Regions from separate parts of the Homo sapiens genome. Here all the other regions are linked to region 1. The links are contacts of gene promoters, found by promoter capture Hi-C in blood cells and fetal thymus (Javierre and others, 2016). All regions are on one chromosome and are shown on one strand. Each heading gives the region's core, a stretch centred on a gene start or on the middle of the fragment in contact. The rest is flanking DNA. Distances are from core to core; before and after follow the strand shown.

The links. The method cuts DNA at HindIII sites, captures the fragments that hold promoters and counts their contacts. A CHiCAGO score of 5 or more calls a contact.
Region 2: a contact is called between the fragment with the promoter of NASP here and the fragment with the promoter of PTCH2 in region 1, in 2 of 17 cell types (neutrophils and total B cells). The highest score is 7.0, in neutrophils.
Region 3: the fragment with the promoter of PRDX1 here is called in contact with the fragment with the promoter of PTCH2 in region 1 in 1 of 17 cell types (naive CD4 T cells); the score reaches 6.0 in naive CD4 T cells.

The regions. Positions count from the first base shown.
Region 1 is chr1:44,841,703-44,846,207 of GRCh38, reverse strand. PTCH2 (patched 2) reads left to right here and starts at 2,955. Exons shown (of 22, transcript NM_003738.5): 1 at 2,955-3,347; 2 at 4,169-4,361. The coding sequence starts at 3,276. RefSeq lists a silencer at 2,740-3,009. The HindIII fragment of the contact is 9,661 bases long and covers 889-4,505 here.
Region 2 is chr1:45,582,035-45,586,539 of GRCh38, reverse strand. It overlaps NASP (nuclear autoantigenic sperm protein), which reads right to left and starts at 2,499. Exons shown (of 15, transcript NM_002482.4): 1 at 2,335-2,499. The coding sequence starts at 2,393. RefSeq lists silencers at 1,804-2,103, 3,014-3,073 and enhancers at 2,604-2,913, 3,364-3,423, 3,834-3,883. The HindIII fragment of the contact is 9,802 bases long and covers 2,317-4,505 here.
Region 3 is chr1:45,519,844-45,524,348 of GRCh38, reverse strand. PRDX1 (peroxiredoxin 1) reads left to right here and starts at 2,465. Exons shown (of 6, transcript NM_181697.3): 1 at 2,465-2,520. RefSeq lists an enhancer at 1,987-2,066 and a silencer at 3,109-3,271. The HindIII fragment of the contact is 8,348 bases long and covers 1-2,864 here.

The sequences.
Region 1 (4,505 bases), core at 1,706-4,205:
GTTTCCTTAATAGACAGACTTGGCCTTGGAAGCATCCATAGAAATGGTGGACTTTGTCACAATTGTTAGCAGTGATGGGCCTATGATGAAAGCAGAGTCCCAAGGCCCAAGTGGTTACAAATCTATTTATCCATGGACCTTATGTCTTGCAGAGTCTGGTAAAAAGGAAGGAGATTAAGACTTACTTAAAGCATAGCATCGGGAGTTGTACTCCTGATGACAACCAGTGCTGAGTCCAGGCCACTCCCTGTCTTCAGCTATTGCCCCAAGAGCAAACTAGGGGCCCATACAGACTTAAGTTAGAGGCTGTTTCTATTTCAGAGACTTGCTAGGGGTACAGTTCTTTTTAACCTTAAATTTTTTATGTTATCATTATTATTGTTTTTTGAGGCAGGGTCTCACTTTGTCGCCCAGGCTGGAGTGCAATGGCACAATCACAGCTCGCTGCAGCCTCTATCAACTCTCCTGCCTCAGCCTCCCAAGTAGCTGGGACTACAGGTGTGCGCCACCACACCCAGCTAATTTTTTATTTTTTGTAGAGATGGGGTCTCACTATGTTGCCAGGGCTTGAACTCCTGGCCTCAAGCAATCCTCCCGCCTCAGCTTCCCAAAGGGCTGGGATTACAAGCATGAGCTACCATGCCACTTTATGCTCAGCAGGACACACTCTATAACAGGGAGAAGAAAGTGCTATTCAGGTAGGCTGCTTTTCATGTGCAGTTACTGTTTGGCCAACAGCATCATACATATATTAGTTCCTCCATAGGCATTTTTCTGGGTGAATGGACAAATGGAAATGGCAAACCTGTTAGGTGTTCACCCCTTCAACCTAAATGTTCCTCTTCCCCAGGACTGAGGCTCTAGAGATGATGTTAATTTGCACAAGCTTTCAAAAAATCAGTTGAGCAGTGTGTATCAAGAGCCATAAAAATGTTCATACTCTTTGACCCAAACAACCCACTTCTGGGAATCTGTCCTAAGGATATTCTCCAAATGATTGATTACAAAAACTACATAGTAACATGAAATATTTATGATGGAATGATTTTTTTTAAGTCTGGAAGAACTGACCAAGAAATTTGCCAGAGATAATAGTAGTTGTGTTAGAAAAATTAGCTTATTGTAGATTCATTTTCTCTTTCTCAAACTTTACATATTGGAATATTGATTTTACCCTACTCTGCCACTTGAGGTTTATCAATCAGGAACCCAATAGAAACAGCACACTCAGATAGGATAGTTGAAAGTTTAATAGAGGGACTATTGCCTCTATTCTTCCCAATTTCCAATCCTTTACACCCTGAATTCTGCAACTCTTAGTGACTCACTCAACAATTATTAAGCACCTATTTATTGTCTGGTGAAGAAGGCAGACTTTCAAGTACATAAGTTTTTGTGTCATAAATGCAATTATACATATATAAATTGAGTTGTTATGCAGAGCACAAAGAAGCAATTATCTGCCAGGAGAGAGACATGAATCAAGGAAGGTTTCAAAGAGGGGGTAGGCTGGGTACAGTGGCTCACGCCTATAATTCCAGCACTTTGGAAGGCCCAGGTGGGCAGATGACCTGAGCCCAGGAGTTTGAGACCAACCTGGGCAACATGGCAAAACCCTGTCTATACAAAATTACAAAAATTAGCTAGGTGTGGTGGTGCACACCTGTAGTCCCAGCCATTTGGGAGGTCGAGGTGGGAGGATCCCTTGAGACTGGGAGCTCAAGGCTGCAGTGTGCTGTGAAGGCACCACTGCACTCCAACCTGGGCAACAGAGGGAGATCCTGCCTCAAAAAAAAAAAAAAAAAGGTGGGTTTTGGGGGTGATTCAAGTTCAGTTTTTGAAGATTATCTGCCAAGACAAAAGGACCAAAACATGTACAAAGGCAGGAACGAGGGAACACTGATGTGAGGGAACTATGGGAGAGAAGGCTTTAGCTAGATCACACAGGGCCCTGTGCTCCAAGTGGGCCTTGTGCTTTGGAGCTATCAGATTTGCATGTTAGAGAAATGACTCTGGTCTCAGTGGAGAGAGTGGACTGAAGAGGGCAAGAATGGAAGCCGGGAAGAGTGAACAGAAGAAATCTTGGGCTTTGATTGGGTCGGAAAGAAAGTGTGGCCCTACCCACTTTGATGCCATCTCTAAGACCTACTGCTACCTGACCCCCGACCTCTGGAAGGAGACTGTATTCACCAAGTCTCCCTATCAGGAATTCACTGACCACCTCGTCAAGACCCACACCAGAGTCTCCGCGCAGAGGATCCAGGCTCCAGCTGTGGCTACAACATAGGGTTTTTATACAAGAAAAATAAAGTGAATTAAGCCTGAAAAAAAAAAAAAAGAAAAGAAAAAGAAATTGTGGCCCTAGGCCGGGCGCGGTGGCTCACGCTTGTCATCCCAACACTTTGGGAGGCTGAGGCGGGCGGATATCCTGAGCTCGGGAGTCTGAGACCAACCGGGGCAACATGGCGAAACCCGTTCTCTACCAAAAATACAAAAAGCCGGGCGTGGTGGTGCATGCCTGTGATCCCAGCTACTCGGGAGGCTGAGGTGGGAGGATGGCTTGAGCCTGGAAGGCGGAGCCTGCAAGCCGAGATGGAGCCACTGCACTCCAGCCTGGGTGACAGAGTGAGACCCCGTCTTAAAAAAAAAAAAAAAAGTGTATCCCTAACAGAGCCCGCAAAGGCCCTTTCTCAGCGTAAGCCTCTGGACTTACACTTGGCCGGCGCTGCGCCTCTCCGGGATCCCCCTCCCTCCTCCTCCCTGGGGCCCCGCGGGCGGGAGGGAGGCGCGGGGTGGCCCAGCCTGGGTGGTCTCCCGCCCCGCCCCCTGCGGCGCCGTTACCTAGCAGCGGGCCGGGCCGCGCGGCTAGGGTAATTTGCGGGCCCCTCAGCCAATGGGAGGGCGTCGCCCCGGCCAGCTCCCTTTTCTGGAGCTCCAGCCGCCTCCCGGGGACTGCAGTTGCCACCTCGAGCCCTGCTGTGCGTCTCGGGCCAGCAATTCCGCCTGCGCGCGGGACCCATTCCTCCTCCAGCCGCCGCGGCCCACGGCCCACGGAGCGGGTGAATCCCGGCGCCGCGCCCCGGACCCGCAGCTCCCTGCACTCCTCCCTCCCAGCCGCTTTAACACCCACACCCCACAGTCTCTCCCACGCCCGCGCCTTGGCGGCCCCACTGAATCCCTACGCGGGGCCCAGCGGTACCGGGAGACCGGGCTAGCCTATGGGAGCGCCCAGATAACGCGGGTTGGGGGCGCCCGCGCCCCCCATCCCCGCCAGCATGACTCGATCGCCGCCCCTCAGAGAGCTGCCCCCGAGTTACACACCCCCAGCTCGAACCGCAGCACCCCAGGTGAGTAGAGGGGGAGCTGGAAGAAGGAAGAGAGCGGAGCCAGGTCTGTCACTCGGGCCTCTGCAAGGTTTGTGATGTCTTGAAGTGCCGAGTGTCATTAGATGTCTGAAGGCAAGTGAGAGCCAGCACCGCAAGCAAGTTGTGCGTGTGTGTCGGTGTGTCTGTGCCGGTGTCTCCTCATCGTCTGGCCAGTGAGAATGAATGTCTGTGGGTTCACCTCTGTGTCCACCCGACGACAGGTGTGTGTACATATGTATCCTGCTCTCAGAAAATGGGCCTATGCCGGCCGGGCGCGGTGACTCACGCCTGTAATCCCAACACTGGGAGGCTGAGGCAGGCAGATTACCTGAGGTCAGGAGTTCGAGACCAGCCAGGCCAACATGGGGAAACTCTGTCTCTACTAAAAATAAAAAATTAGCAGGGCGTGGTGGCGGGCGCCTGTAGTCCCAACTACTCGGGAGGCTGAGGCAGGAGAATCTCTTGAACCTGGGAGGCGGAGGTTGCAGTCAGCCGAGATCACACCACTGCACTCCAGCCAGGGCAACAGAGCGAGACTGCGTCTCAAAAAAAAAAAAAAAAAAAAAAAGGAGAGAAAACAAAAAGAAAAGAAAGGAAAATAGGCCTATGCCTTCCTCAGGTGTGTGCTGGGGATGGTGGGTGTTACATCTTCCAAGTCTGGGCCTGTGTCTGTGTTGGTGCTCCCTGTCCCACATCCAGAAATCAAGAAGCGAGGGCTGGGCAGCAGATATACAGGGTGAGAAGGGAAGGATTTCATGCATTGTTGCAGTGATGCCTGGCTGACCCTTCTCTTTCCATCCCAGATCCTAGCTGGGAGCCTGAAGGCTCCACTCTGGCTTCGTGCTTACTTCCAGGGCCTGCTCTTCTCTCTGGGATGCGGGATCCAGAGACATTGTGGCAAAGTGCTCTTTCTGGGACTGTTGGCCTTTGGGGCCCTGGCATTAGGTCTCCGCATGGCCATTATTGAGACAAACTTGGAACAGCTCTGGGTAGAAGGTAAGTTGTGGACACTGGCCATAGCTGCTCAGGTATGGTGAGCCCAAGACAAGAACGGGGTGAGGAGCTGGCTACTGAGCTCTAGCAGGCCTGGCCCTGGGGCTGGAGGGTCACCTGCTGGCCAGAGTCCTACACCTGGGCATC
Region 2 (4,505 bases), core at 1,250-3,749, 740 kb before region 1:
ACGTGGGTGGATCCCTTGAGCCTAGGCGTTGGGAGACCAGCCTGGGCAACATGGCAAAAACTCGTCTTTACAAAATAAATACTAGAATCAGCTGGGCCTTGTGGTGTGCGCCTGCAGTCCCAGCTACTCGGGAGGCTGAGGCCGGACAATCACTTGAGGCCAGGAGGTAGGGGCTGCTGTGGGCCGAGATGGCATCACTGCACTCCAGCCTGGGTGACACACACACACACCACACACACACACACACACACACACCACACACACACACACACACACACACACACACACACACACACACACGGCACGGTAGGGGCTGCAGGGGGCCGAGATGGCATCACTGCACTCCAACCTGGGTGACAGAGACCCTGCCCCCCCACCCCCACACACCCAGCACATATAATTGCTCAGTTTTAGCTTTCAATTTATGCTGTGAGGAACTAAATGGTTTGCTTTCTTCTAGCCACATATACATAAACTTTCTCTATGTATAACCTGCCAGGAAACTAAATTCACTAATGACCTAACTCTGGCTAGACACAGGGGACCTGCAAGAGGTATTTGTTGCATACTTCTACCTCAAAAAACAAAAACAAAAACACCTGGCCCTGCGCCGTGCCTCACGCCTGTAACCTCAACACTTTGGGAGGCCAAGGCGGGAGGACTGCTTGAGTCCAAGAGTCTGAGACCAACCTGGGCAACATTAAGACCTTGTATCTACAAAAAATTGGCCAGGTGTAGTGGCACACCTGTAGTCCCAAGCTACTAGGGAAGATCAGTTGTGCCCAGGAGTTCGAGGTTGCAGTGAGCTATGATCACAACACTACACTCCAGTCTGGATGTGAGATCCAGACCCTGTCTGCAAAAACAAAACAAAAACACACAGCTGTCAGTGAAATACTGACTGCTAGAGCTGTCTAGGAAACATTATAAAAAGCAGCTCTTTTTATAATAGCTATAGCACGACTCCCAAGCCCAATCTATACTGCTTATATCGAATCAATGGGGAAAGAGGCAGGTAATGGGAGTTTGAAATTAAAATTGTATTTCCCATGAGTTCCCAAATGATTCTCAGGGTGACTTGAGAACCACTGCTCTACAAGAACGCAGAGAGAAAAGGTGGTAAGCAGAGATATACGTAAATCTCTAACTATAAACAAACAAAGACATAATCATGACAGAGTGTAAGCCTATAGAATATCAATTTAAAAAACTTCACAGCAACCATTCCTTTTACAGGGAAGGCAACTAACCTCTAAAGCGCACAAGATTAGAAAAAAAAATAGAACCAGATGCCTAAAAAAATATGGCAAGATTGGGAAATCAGACCTACTGTATGGGAAACAGCACTTGTTTCCTTGAACTCGTGTAGTGTTTCCCTCCACTGTTCAAAAAACAGATTACGCCTGAGTGGCACTGTGCCGCTTTCAAAACAATCCTATCTTGTTTCCCTCCAGTCCTTCTCCACTTCGTGCATACTACTGCCGATTCACCTAGCAACCAAACAGTGCTGGTGAGAGCTCCAGACAGCGCTTCCTGAAGACGCTTTACGTCCGGTAATGTTCCCCCCAAACAGACACCACCTCCAAAGTCTAAAGAACGACAATCCTCCCCACCACAGGCAGGGGCTCACGGAGTCGCGGGGAGCGATAACTATCTCCCAGCACAAGACGTGAGCGAGGTGTCGGGGGGAACTAGCCTCGCCGGCCCCACGGAGATAGTCCAAAGCTCCTGCTGGAGCCGCAGCGGCCCCAAACAATGGAGTTTTCCCGCCTCCTCAAGGCCCCGCCCCCTGCCCCAGGGCCGGCGAGGGAAGCGAACGCACGCGCGCAAAACCCCGCCCTCAGCAAGGCCCCGCCCACCCCGACCCCTCAGGTCCAGCCTCCTTCCTCGTGCAAGGTTTTTTTTCCCTTTTGGCGCCAAATCTTCGTTGGTTATATTCCCGGGTTATCCAGGGGTTCTACCAGAGGCACACGCTGGGGACAGAAGGGGCGTGAAGGCCAACCCGCGCGCCAGGGCCCCGCCTCCCGGCCAACCGCCCCGGGCTGGGGGAGGAAGGAGAGGGGCAGGCGAAGGATACAGCCGCCGCTGCCCCCGGCAAGATGGCGGCCGCGAAAAGCGGGGCAGGGGGCGCCAGCCGACCGCCGTTACCGCTGCTGCGCGAGGCTCTCAGCAAAAGAAGGACTGCTCCAGTGACCAGGCCTTCCCGAACAGCGACAGCTGCTCTTGGGAAGGCAAGTACTCCCGCCCACCGGTCTGCCCCTTCTCCGGAGCCCCCGTCCATTAGCCCTCCCCGCGGACTGGCCAGTGCCTTAAGCTTTCCACAGTCCCGCTTACTTGTCGGCAGAAACCAGCTCCGCGGCGACGGCGGCAGTGGCTGTGGACTCCATGGCCATCGTTCCCCTGAGGTGGCGAACCAGCGAACGGAATAGAGCCTGCGAGAAAAACAGGCAATTTGGGACGCCAGAGACTCACTCAGGGACAGAAAATGGCAGATTAGAGACCCCGCGCGGCCGGGGCCCTTTTATATACGAGGACCCTTCGCCCCGCCCATCCACTTCCGGATCCTCCCCCTCGGGTTTAAAGGGCCAGGACTCACCACCCATACCCTCCGTCCCCCGCCGGCCTACCACTATCTAGACACCTCCTGCCCTCTCCATATGGCTCCGCGGGATTGTTTCCCTCCCTAGCCCGACTTCTCCAATAAACAGCAACTTCCTGCTTCTCCAGCAAGTCGCATAAGAAGAACTGGAATCTTGACACTACAACTCCTGACAGGACGCCCCTGCGGCATCCAGAGACAGGGAAGCCAGTGCTGCTCTGCATGTTCAGGGCGAGTAGCTGAGAGTCTCCTTCCGGCCTGGATACTGAGGAAGGTGACTTAGACTTTCTCTCCGTCCTCTGAGTCGTAACGGACGGACACGCAAGGGCCGAGGACGGGTACAAGCAGCAGCGACTAGAACTGATCTGGGTGAGATCTAGGCCTCAGCAACAACTGACGCAAAAAGATTTTGTTCTAGGATTGGCTACAGCTGAAACTACCGCGCTTGATTCAAAGCTCGGGGCTTGCAGCGGGAGGCAGCTGGCTCCTCCCTCTGAACCCGCCCCCTTTGGCTGGCCCAATCCGCTGATCCCATCCTCTTAGGCCCTGCCCAGACTCCAAATCTACCAGAATTAATGCTCCCAGCGCTGTTTGTCCACTCCTGCCTATGATTTGCTGTGTGACTACTACTCGTGGGGGTACCGTGATTAGACGCTTTAAAGCTATTAGCTATCTTGTTTAATATTAACAATGCTACTAGTGAGATCAGTGTTAGTCTGTTTCTTAGAAAAATAAACCAAGGGGCCGGACGCGGTGGCTCACGCCTGTAATCCCAGCACTTTGGGAGGCCTAGGCTGGTGGATCACGAGGTCAGGAGTTCAAGACCAGCCTGGCCAAGATGGTGAGACCCCCCCGTCTCTACTAAAAAATACAAAAATTAGCCGGGCGTGGTGGCGGGCGCCTGTAATCCCAGCTACTCGGGAGGCTGAGGTAGGAGAATACTAGAACCCGGAAGGCAGAGGTTGCAGTGAGCCGAGAGCTCGCCACTGCACTCCAGCCTGGGCAACAGAGCGAAACTCCGTCTCAAAAATAAATAAATAAATAGGCCAAGGTTCCAACCTGGCCAACATGGTGAAACCCCGTCTCTACTAAAAATACGAAAATTAGCCAGGTGTGGTGGCAGGCTCCTGTAATCCCAGCTACTCGGGAGGCTAAGGCAGGAGAATCACTTGAACCCGGGAGGCAAAGGTTGCAGTGAGCCGAGATCTCGCCACTGCACTGCAGCCTGGGCAACAGAGCGAGACTCCGTCTCAAAAAAAAAAAAAAGGGGAAGCTGTGACTTGTTCAGAAAGTTGCAAGACAAATCAGTTATGGAAAGCAGTGTGCCTCATTTCCTGCAAATGGCTGAGTGAAAAATAACTGGCAGGCTAAAAAGCTGCAATTCCTCACACCTGGAGTATCATCCATTCCTTTTCACCATGGCCCAGTCTACGCTGATCGGAGTAGGGGTTTTTATTTCCCTTTAGGTTCCAGCATATTGGGAAAGATTCCTGGAGAGGATTCTTATTCCAATCTGTCAAGGCTCGAAGAGGTTGAAATCTTTGGGGCTAGAGAGCTGGACGTGAAAATGCCAATTCCTATGGCAAACATACATGGGCTCTTCCATTATTAGCTAGGTGACGTGAGCCAGGTCACGTAACCCGGATTGTAATCGAGTAGCTGGGATTAAGGTTAAGTGTAAAATGAAGACATATTAGTAGCCACCGCTTAAGGACATTGTGAGAATTACAGGTAATTAGCACTGTGTAGAATTCACGCTAAGCACTCATTGAATGGCTACCACAGTCTGATGATGTGGTAAATGGAGGGTGTTGGGAGGGGAGATCTCTCCAAAGTCCTTGCAGCCAGGGCTAGGGCCTGAGAAAACCTCTGCAATTACTGGTGTGACCGATTCATCCATTAAATT
Region 3 (4,505 bases), core at 1,216-3,715, 680 kb before region 1:
TTAATGAGTTTAAGACTTGCCCAAGTTCACACCTAAAATTACAGTGAGGAGTTTTTGTGTTTGTGTGTGTGTGTTTTTTTTTGAGACAGAGTTTCGCTCTTGTTGCCCAGGCTGGAGTGCAATGGCGCTATCTCAGCTCACTGCAACCTCTGCCTCCCTGATTCAAGCGATTCACCTGCCTCAGCCTCCAGAGTAGCTGGGATTACAGACATGCGCCACCACACGTGGCTAATTTTGTATTTTTAGTAGAGATGGGGTTTCTCCACGTTAGGCTGGTCTCGAACTCCTGACCTCAGGTGATCTGCCCTCCTCAGCCTCCCAAAGTGCTGGGATTACAGACATGAACCACCGCGCCCGGCCCTGACAGTGAGGAGTTTTAACTCAGTAAATTGACTACAGAGCCTCAGCTTTTATTTTATTTTTTATTTTTCTTTTCTTTTTAAATTTTACTTTCTTTCTTTCTTTAGCCCCAGCTTTTAAACCACGAATAACAGTGACATGATCAGACTTCAGAAAGATTTCCTTCAGCTGCAGTGGAAGGGATGGATAAGAGATAGTGTTAATTGAAATGAGTGACTAAACTGACTAAACCATGTCACAGACACTTTTGTGGCTGTTTCTTCCCCAGCTTTTAAACCACGAATAACAGTGACATGATCAGACTTCAGAAAGATTTCCTTCAGCTGCAGTGGAAGGGATGGATAAGAGATAGTGTTAATTGAAATGAGTGACTAAACTGACTAAACCATGTCACAGACACTTTTGTGGCTGTTTCTTCCCAAGAGGTTCTCAGGAGGTTTTTAGTATTTATACATTTTCCTTGAAAAGTGGGGGTGGGAAAGATTGAGGCAAAGACTTTAGCTAATGCTCAGGAAATCTACGTTTTGTTTTTTGAGACGGAGTCTTGCTCTGTTGCCAGGCTGGAGTGCAGTGGTGCTCTCGGCTCACTGCAACCTCTGCCTCCGGGTTCAAGCGATTCCCCTGCCTCAGCCTCCCAAGTAGCTAGGACTACAGGCGCGCCACCACACTCGGCTAAGTTTTTGTATTTTAGCAGAGACAGGGTTTCACCATGTTGGCCAGGATGGTCTCGATCTCCTGACCTTATGATCCGCCCTCCTAGGTGGCCTAAATCTACATTTTTACATAAGATAAGGTGAATGTTTGAAGAAAAAGGGAATGGAGGAAGAAAACAATTATGTGGTGGACTCAGGGTAATCTAGTAGTAAGGTACTACTAGAAAGGTAGAAAGTAGTCTAGTAGAAAGGTAATCTAGTAGTGAACATTTATGGAATTTGTGGAATAGAGGCCAGGTGCGGTGGCTCGCGCTTACATTCCTAGCACTTTGGGAGGCCAAGGCGGGCGGATCACCTGAGGTCAGGCGTTGGAGACCAGCCTAGCCAACATGATGAAACCTCGTCTCTACTAAAAATACAAAAAATTAGCTGGGCGTGGTGGTGCGTGCTTGTAGTCCCAGACACTCCGGAGGTGAGGCGGGAGAATCGCTTGAGCCCGGGAGGTGGAGGTTGCAGTAAGCCAACACCGTGCCACTGCACTACAGCCTGGGCGACAGGGTGAGTGAGACTCCGTCTCAAAAAAATGTGGAATAGAACAAACTTTAGTTTTAGGAACTAGACTTTATATTGTAGATCTAGTTGCAATTGACACGTCCTTGTTTTATGGGAGGCTACATACTTTAAAGGTTTCCAGGGGAGCAAATAATTAATTATGATTTTGTGTATGTGTGTTTGTGGGGGGTAGTCATCAGGAAATGTCTGAGGCCTTTTGCCTTACCGTGTGGGTCTGGCTAATGTGTAATGTTTTGACTCAAGATTGTAAAGTCAAATTATTCATCCGGGGAGAGGATGGTCGTGTAACTGAATCAGCCTCCCAAGATGAACTTTCCCTCTGGCGTAAGTTTAGGAGTCCTGATATTTTATTTTCCTTTACAACAGAAAGCAGCAACCCTGTAATTAAAGAGAACAATGAAGGAAGCTATCTAAGCCATGAGGGTTACTGAGGATCTGCGCTGGGGTTAAGGCTGCGAACTTAAGAAATATTTGGATAGACAGTTCTCATGGCTTGGTGTGGTTAGACGTGGTCCTCCGTGGGCAGCAGCTAAGACGCTTACTCCAGTTTGGGCATTGAGGGCACAGTGCGTAGTGGTCCTGGAAGTAAAGAGAATCCTGGTTTTCCGCAGAGATCTAGGATTAACCTAAGCGTTCGGGTTCGGGAGCGGCCACAAGGGCGCCTCACTCCAACCTCAGCCATCCGCAACAGGGTGGGGTATTAGTATTTTTCCGCACCCGCCCCAACGAGGGAAAGCGCCGAGTCATTCCGGCGGGGCGCGCCGGGCGGGGCTCGGGCCACATCCCCCTCCTCTCTCTCCTCCTCCGGCACCCCCGTCCGTTCCGACTCTCGCGAGATCCCTACTGGCTATAAAGGCAGCGCCCCGGAGAGCTCTTGCGCGTCTTGTTCTTGCCTGGTGTCGGTGGTTAGTTTCTGCGACTTGTGTTGGGACTGGTGAGTGTGGGCAGTGCGGCCCCTGCGGAGTGAGGCGCGGCGCGCCCTTCTTGCCTGTTGCCTCTTCCTCCTCCTGTCCGGGGCCCGCCCGCGCTCGGGTGGGGGTGCTGTGATGCGTGAGGCAGCCGGGGGAGGCCCGGAGTCCGAGACTGCTTGAGCGCTGCGCACACCCCTCTCGTGGGCCCCCCACGTAGGTGCGGGAACCTGGTTGAACCCCAAGGCAAGCGTGGACTCGAGTCGAGTCTTCCCCCGGCAACTCGAGCACGTGGCGCGGCGTCTGGGCGGGCTGGTGGTGGGGGTCTCCGAGACTAGCCTCCTGCCGGACGGGGTGGGTTCGGGAAGCTTCTGGAATGGACCTGTATCCAGACTCGTGGCTGTAGAAGACAGCCTCTATGTATTTGGCTGTTCCGGGTCCTGAGCCTTGACTAGCTGCGGAGCTTCGGGTACCCTTTCCCCGTCTTTATTTTCCTGTACGTGGAATGGAGTTAGCGATGAGCCCAAATGTCCCCGCTGAAGCACTCTCTCTGCTGGTGCTTTCTCCAGTGCTGGGGAGGGACAGGGGGCACCTGAAGTGGGGTTTAGGGATGTGGCCCTCTACGCTGGGCAGATCCCCTGAAGGGGCCCGGTGGCGGCCTGAATCCCAGCAGCCTTTACCCCGAATTGGTTGGGTTTTGTACTTGGGGGCCACTTGGGAAAGAAGGATTGGACGAGAAGGCCATTTGGGGGCACCAAGTTGCAGCATGCCTTAGTTTTTGGTTTTTGTTTTTTGTCGTTAAAGGTGTTAAGGACTTTTTAAAAAACAGTTAAAAGTTTGCTAAGATCCATGCTTACAAAATTTCTTTTGCTTGTGGTATTGTGAACTAAGAACTTTGGGACTTGGAAAAGCTTTCAGACCGCGGCTTAGTGGGTTAAATCTCTGTTTTTTGAGCTAGAGTCTCGCTCTGTCGGCCAGGCTGGAGTGCAGTGGCGCGGTCTCGGCTTACTGCAACCCCTGTCTCCCGAATTCAAGCAATTCTTCTGCCTCAGCCTTAGGAGTAGCTGGGATTACAGGCTTGTGCCACCAAGCCCCGGCTAATTTTTGTATTTTTTTTTTTTTTTTTTTTTTGAGACGGAGTCTCGCTCTGTCGCCCAGGCTGGAGTGCAGTGGCTGGATCTCGGCTCACTGCAGCCTCCGCCTCCCGGGTTCACGCCATTCTCCTGCCTCAGCCTCCCGAGTAGCTGGGACTGCAGGCGCGTGCCACCACCCCCGGCTAATTTTTTGTATTTTTGTTAGAGACGGGGTTTCACTATGATGGCCAGGCTGGTCTCGAACTTCTGACCTCAGGTGATCTGCCTGCCTCGGCCTCCCAAAGTGCTGGGATTACAGGCTTGAGCCACAGCGCTTGGCCAAGATCTCAATACTAATCTTGGTGTTGATCTGGGTGAATCCAGTGCAACCTTCCTTTTCAGCAGTAAATTGATTCTTATACTTGTTTTCGCCCTGGGATATTAGCCCCAAAGTCAGGAACCCACCTTCACAAATGGTGAAGGGAATTCTAGGGCTTACACAATACCTAAAGATTTGAAATTAAGCAGATGCCAATCAATATCTTGGTCTTGCCTCTTTTTTTTTTTTTTTTTTTTGGAGACAGAGTCTCACTCTGTTGCCCAGGCTGGAGTGCAGTGGCGCGATCTCAGCTTACTGCAACCTCTGCCTCCCGGGTTCAAGTGATTCTCCTGCTTCAGCCTCCTGAGTAGTTGCGATTACAGGCATGCACCACCACGCCCGACTAATTTTTGTGTTTCTAGTAGAGACGGGGTTTCACCATGTTGGCCAGACTGGTCTCGAACTCCTGACCCGGTGATCCGCCCGCCTGAGCCTCTCAAAGTGCTGGGATTACAGGTGTGAGACACTGCGCCCAGTGGTCTTGCCTCTTAAAAGTTGGACTGACTGGAAGGGCGCGGTGGCTCACGCCTGTAATCCCAGCATTTTGGGAGACTGAGTT